2 separate regions of the Homo sapiens genome follow, and region 2 is linked to region 1. Evidence: promoter capture Hi-C in 16 types of primary human blood cells and fetal thymus (Javierre and others, 2016). All regions are on one chromosome and are shown on one strand. Each heading gives the region's core, a stretch centred on a gene start or on the middle of the fragment in contact. The rest is flanking DNA. Distances are from core to core; before and after follow the strand shown. Region 1 holds the start of FAM98A (family with sequence similarity 98 member A). Region 2 overlaps NT5C1B-RDH14 (NT5C1B-RDH14 readthrough).

Region 1 (2,949 bases), core at 269-2,768:
TATTAAGCCACTCAGCCTTAGTGTCCTCATCTGTAGAATGTGACTAATATTCACACAGCCTTATGGTGACTGCATCATAATGGGCCATATCAAGTGCCCATGGTAAGTGCAGAAAACCTACCCCCACTTCAGATGATGCAAAATAAGGAAACTGAAAAAGGTACTACTGGCCGGGCGCGGTGGCTCACGCCTGTAATCCCAGCACTTTGGGAGGCCAAGGTGGGCGGACCACAAGGTCAGGAGATCGAGACCATCCTGGCTAACATGGTGAAACCCCGTCTCTACTAAAAATACAAAAAATTAGCTGGGTGTGGTGGTGAACGCCTGTGGTCCCAGCTACTTGGGAGGCTGAGGCAGAATAATGGCGTGAACCCGGGAGGCGGAGCTTGCAGTGAGCCGAGATCGCACCACTGCACTCCAGCCTGAGCGACAGAGCAAGACTCCGTCTCATAAAAAAAAAAAAAAAAAAAGAAAGAAAAGAAAAAGGTACTACTAAGGATAGGAACATCTATCCATCAGACACAAAAATGCTTGAGAACTATAGAATAAAATCAACAGGTATCAATATGAAAACTCTTTAATTAAATGCCTACACGATTTAACAGTACGCCAACTTATGGTTAAATATAGTTTTCTAAATATGCCATCACTTTGAAAACATTTCTGATTTTTCAGTAATTTCTAAACACACCCTCAGTAACTGCCAAGATATCACAACACATCCACATCGTGAACTCAATGTTTCACCCGGGCAAATAATGTCAAAAGTAATGACAGTACAGCCAAAAAGTTTATTCACTGTCTAAACTACGTGGATTTAAAAATATTCTATTCTATTTGCTATGGAGTGAAGCTCCCCTTCTCCTTAAAATAACATGCTTAGTGTCTGGGAAGGGCTTTAGACATCAGGTAGAGAATGCATGAGGGAAAACGACCCAACTTTCTGAACATCCATAGTCTGCGGAAAGTTGGCTCATCCCTAACCCTGAAATAAAGCTACTGCAGCCACGAGGAAATCAAATGGCACGCTATCTGCCGTCTGCACTTGGCCCGCACCCGCGTCCTGAAGACGGGAGCGCAAGAATTCTCCCTTTCTACATGACCTGCAAGCTAAGGCTAGCACATGCCGGCACCCTACGAAGAGCCACCCGATCTCCTGTCTGGGATGCAGAGACTCGGTTTAACAGCCGACTCCACCCGCGTCCCGAGACTCTTCCAAGCTCCTTCCCGGCCCGCCGCGCCCCCTACATTCGCACATGCGTACACCCAATAACGAGAGCCGAGAGCGCTCCCCTTCGCGTGGTCCCCACGCCCAGCTGCCACGCAGCCGGTCCTCCTACCCTTCTCTGGGCGGCTAGCTTCACGATCCAGTAACGCGCATGTGCAAAACTGCGGGCCCTGTAATTCTTTAGTGGGCAGGGGTGGGGCGGTCAGTGGGACCAAGTTTCTTGCGCACGCTCCGGACATGCGCAGTGCGGGAGCTGAGGCGCCAGCTGTGGATTTGGAAGTTCCGGGGAAGTCGCGCATGCGCGAGTGTACGCGTTGCCGGCGAAGAGGGGAGCCTGACGACTCGGAAATTTGAATACCACAGTAGCATGGAGTGTGACCTCATGGAGACTGACATCTTGGAGTCGTTGGAAGATCTAGGGTAAGATTGTCAGGGCACGGGTCTCCCAAGCCCCACGCTGCCGGCCCCCTGGGAACACCTCCTGCGCCCCAGTCTGAGACACCTGCCTCTCCACGCCGCACCCCGTGGCTCCTGGCTGTCGCTTCCCTTTGGCCCCGGCACCCCCAATGCCACGTCCACTGTCTGCACTGCTAGCTCGGGGTCCTCCAATCCCAACACCCCTAGGCCTGCCCAGTGCTCCCTGCAGGCGAGCTACCCGCAGCGTTTGTCAGTCATGCGTGTCATTGTCTGGGCTCTGATTTTCGCCACCCCCACTCCCCGAGCTTCTCTCCTCGCTTCATCCTCCTGCCCTACCCCTTAACCCCTCAACTCTAAAGGTTGCCAAAGTTGATTCTGCTTTCCTACTTGTTCTCCAAATTTCCTACTCCCATCTTGAGCCCCTCCTCCTACCCCACCCCACTTCTCTCAAAATTTCTCCTTTGCCCAGTCATCTCTGCATGCACCCAGGCTTCGCTAAGCCACTTGTATGGGCGCTGCATCTGTTCCGCTGGCCAGCTCGCTTGTGCATCTAACCTATCACCACGTCCCTGGGAACCACCAGCAGTTTGCTTTGACTCTGTGATACTCTGCCTCGTTGAGCCCCATTAGACCAGGGTCGTCTTCACCCACGAAGAACCTGCGTATTTGTTTTGCATTGTGTCTCTCCTTCTCCTGATATTTATTCAACCATAATTCATCAGTATCTAGAAGCTGGAAATAGGGTTTGTTATCTCACTGGGTCACCCAGATCAGTGTACTCTATTAAACTTGAGAACGTGGACCCTCTTGGGCTAAATGTGGTTCCAGAAACAAATTGTATGGTTAGATACTTACCTACAGGTACGGTATCAAAACAAAGTACAGATTTAGCTAGCTGTATTTCTAAGTAACAAGTTCTTTATCAAAATTTTCTCTTAGGTTTTTCCATGACAAGGAAACCTTTGAGAGAAACCTTTCTTTAGGAAAAAACACCTTGAGGATTCCCAAAGTCTGCCTATTTGAATAATTTACTACCCTAGTAGAAATTTTTAGGAACGAAGTAGTCTTGCTTATCATCTGTCTTTGTCACAGTGAAATACTATTGTTCTTTTCTTGGAAACTTGCTCTGAATTTTTATAAATATTCCAGACTTTAGGGGGCTTCTTTCTTTCATTAGGGCATATGTTAAAGTCATTCAGCAAAATAGTCTCTTTAGTTGACATCTCAGACTGAATCGCTTGTTCACACATGAAACCATTCATTCATTAGGACTTTTTTAGGAACAGTTTCTTTGTGGCAGTGTT
Region 2 (2,949 bases), core at 127-2,626, about 15 Mb after region 1:
CTGCTTTTGTCATAAAAACAGTCCCAGTTTTTTCACCTATATGTATGGCCTCTTACCGTGAGAAAGCAAATTTACTTGTTTTTTTCTAAGATATACAACCTTAAAGAAAATTTAAGCAAATGGTTACACAATAAGTCATGTTTACAGAAAACTGTTTGTTTCCATGACAGCAAAGAAGGGAGCCTTTGAATCATGAAAACAAGTCAGTCTCCAAATACTACCCTTGACCTTCCCCTAGAAACCCACCAATTATCCCAAGAAAAACCAGTCTACTTCAGTATAAGTAATAATAAAAAGAGAGCTGACATTGAATACATTCAAAGATACTATGAGAAAAAGGCAGATTAAAAAAGAAAAAAATCTAATAACAGATGAAGAGCTCTTACAAGAAAAAGTTGACATAATACAGATAATTATGACTGAACATTTGCCATGACTTTTAAAGACTTAAAGCAAGATCATAAAGTAAAAATGCAATAGTCAAGGAAGACATGATAAAATGTGAAAGTTATAGAATGCTGTAAATCTTTCGTCCCTTCCAATAGAGTTATTACCCATCTGTTACTGTTAAAAATACAATTACATATAGAAAAATGACAGAAATAGATAACAGGTAAAGAAGACCCAGCATATGCCTAAGTAGAATCCCTGAAGAAAAACTTTAAAATCATGTTGGGGGAGGGGGACTGATGTTAAATATAAAGATGCAAATTAATGTAAAAATATAAATTAAAAACTGCTAAATTATCAAAGATGTTTATATATATTAAATGATTAAAATATTAAAGATTAAAAGCCCATATTGTATGACAGAGGTATAGAATCAAAATGACCATCACTGAGACATGGCCTAGTGAAATTACTGGGCTTCAAAATGAAGAAATAATTATCTGGGCTGCCTACTCATGTAAGTGATGGAAGAGGTGGCATGGCAATCAAGAGGCCCTCAAACTTCTCAAGAGCAGCATTCAAAAGCAAAAGACAGTGGAGCACTACTTATAAGATCTTGTGGAGAATCTTATATGTAAATCATGGATTCTATATCTAGCCAAAAGTTTATTCAAGGACAGAGGAAATAGATATATAGTTGAGAATATACTATATTCTCAGGGATTATTACCATAAGATGTTTTTGAGAAAATCAGTACTACAGGACAAATTTCGGCCAACATGCAGAGGACTAGAAGCACAAAGGCACAAATGGTCATATAATATACTTAACCATAGAATTAAAACTAAAACAACCGTACAAATGAACAAATTTGTATGATGTACAAATTATGTAACTAACAAAAAATGGAAAAATATGGGGAAAGAAGGTCTACGGAAGAAGTATGCTGGAATTTTCAGTTACAATAGCCAATCAAAGGATGAAATGTAAACTTGATAAACAGAAATAAAACAAAATGTAATAATGCAAAAGAAACACCAAGGAAAAGTAAATAAATGACTAAAATTAGATGGTGGAGAAGAAATAGAGGACTACAGAGACATTGAAGAAATGCCCTGCTTTCATTATTTCTCATTATGAAGAATAATAGATCTGGGATTCTTTTTAAAATAGAGGACTGAGGGTACTATAAAAGGTTATAGTTGTAAAGGTAATTTATAGAAGGAAATAATGTAAACCTTCTTAAATGTCAGAAGAACCACCCACACACAACTACAAAGAAGAAAGACACAGATTATTGAACAATCCTTTAAAAATTTTAAAACATGGAAAATGCAATAAAAACCATAAGACAGAAACAATCTCAAGTATGTTTGTAATATGAATAAATGTAAATGAACAAAAACTTAACTATTGTTTTAAAAAATAAGATTTTCAGGTTGTATCACATAGCAAAATCCAATTCTAGGCTCTGTACAAGAGATACTAAAACCAAGTGTTTGGAAAGGTTAAAAATGAAAGACACAGTTAGATTCAAGCCAAACAGCATTAAACTAGACAAAAGCATATACTTCATAAAGTTAAAATGCACAATTCACAAAAAGCAAATTAAAAGAGTAGTGCTTTGGTAACTAATTAGAGTTTATTTAGAGTGACCCTCTATTCCAGCTTACCATGGATAGTTTATGTCTGTTGTCCTGGCTTAAGTATTTATTGAACATTCTTTCATACCTAAAGTATATAGGTTTACATGTTAAATAATATGGTCATTTTAGGCACATTCCAGGAATGCAAGGATGGTTCTATATCAGAAAACATATTCACATAAATTCCTATCAAGTTTTAGCATTTTGCCATCAGCTTCATAACACTGCATGTCATGCTGTATTATATCCTTTGTATTGTATCGTATCATATAGGTCTCTGCTTTTTAGCATTCACTTTCTTTGGCTCACTGTATCACAGCTGTGATATATGTTCCTTTTACAGGGTCCCCTAAAAGGCTTTCTGGAAGATTTAGGCAGACTGCAAAAGAAGTTCTATGCCAAAAATGAACGGTTACTTTGTCCTATCAGGACCTACCTGGTTACAGCTAGGAGTGCAGCCAGTTCAGGCGCCCGTGTGCTGAAGACCCTTCGACGCTGGGGTCTAGAGATAGACGAAGCTCTTTTCCTTGCTGGAGCCCCCAAAAGTCCCATCTTGGTGAAGATCCGGCCCCACATCTTCTTTGATGACCACATGTTCCACATTGAAGGGGCACAGAGGTTAGGTTCCATCGCAGCTTATGGCTTTAATAAAAAATTCAGTAGTTAGGGGCAGGGAGGAGAAATAAAGTGGTGATAGTCTGGTGTTACAGAAGCCACTTCTTTTGGCTCTCTAGGATAATTAGATAGGTATTTCAGAAAATTGGACCTTAAAACTTTGCTTCTTTGGAAAGGTTTTCTCCTGATTTTTTGGAAAACCTTTTGAACCCTCAAGTTACCATCAAACTACTTCTCTTTGAACTACCAATACTGTTGAATGCCATTACACCTATCTCTGTGTAAGTCATAATGATG

Evidence for each region. The method cuts DNA at HindIII sites, captures the fragments that hold promoters and counts their contacts. A CHiCAGO score of 5 or more calls a contact.
Region 2: a contact is called between a fragment that was not itself captured here and the fragment with the promoter of FAM98A in region 1, in 1 of 17 cell types (non-activated CD4 T cells). The highest score is 7.1, in non-activated CD4 T cells.

The regions. Positions count from the first base shown.
Region 1 is chr2:33,597,868-33,600,816 of GRCh38, reverse strand. FAM98A (family with sequence similarity 98 member A) reads left to right here and starts at 1,518. Exons shown (of 8, transcript NM_015475.5): 1 at 1,518-1,648. The coding sequence starts at 1,596. It overlaps LOC105374455 (a long non-coding RNA gene), which reads right to left and starts at 1,472. Exons shown (of 3, transcript XR_939942.3): 1 at 1-1,472. RefSeq lists enhancers at 1,005-1,234, 1,375-1,424, 1,455-1,524, 2,075-2,264. The HindIII fragment of the contact is 3,614 bases long and covers 1-2,949 here.
Region 2 is chr2:18,563,551-18,566,499 of GRCh38, reverse strand. NT5C1B-RDH14 (NT5C1B-RDH14 readthrough) reads left to right here. Exons shown (of 11, transcript NM_001199104.2): 10 at 2,381-2,655. It overlaps NT5C1B (5'-nucleotidase, cytosolic IB), which reads left to right. Exons shown (of 9, transcript NM_033253.4): 9 at 2,381-2,949. The coding sequence ends at 2,704. It overlaps LOC105373456 (a long non-coding RNA gene), which reads right to left. Exons shown (of 6, transcript XR_007086234.1): 2 at 2,474-2,679. Among named protein-coding and RNA genes, the nearest start is that of RDH14, 4.4 kb to the right of the region's middle. The HindIII fragment of the contact is 3,268 bases long and covers 1-2,949 here.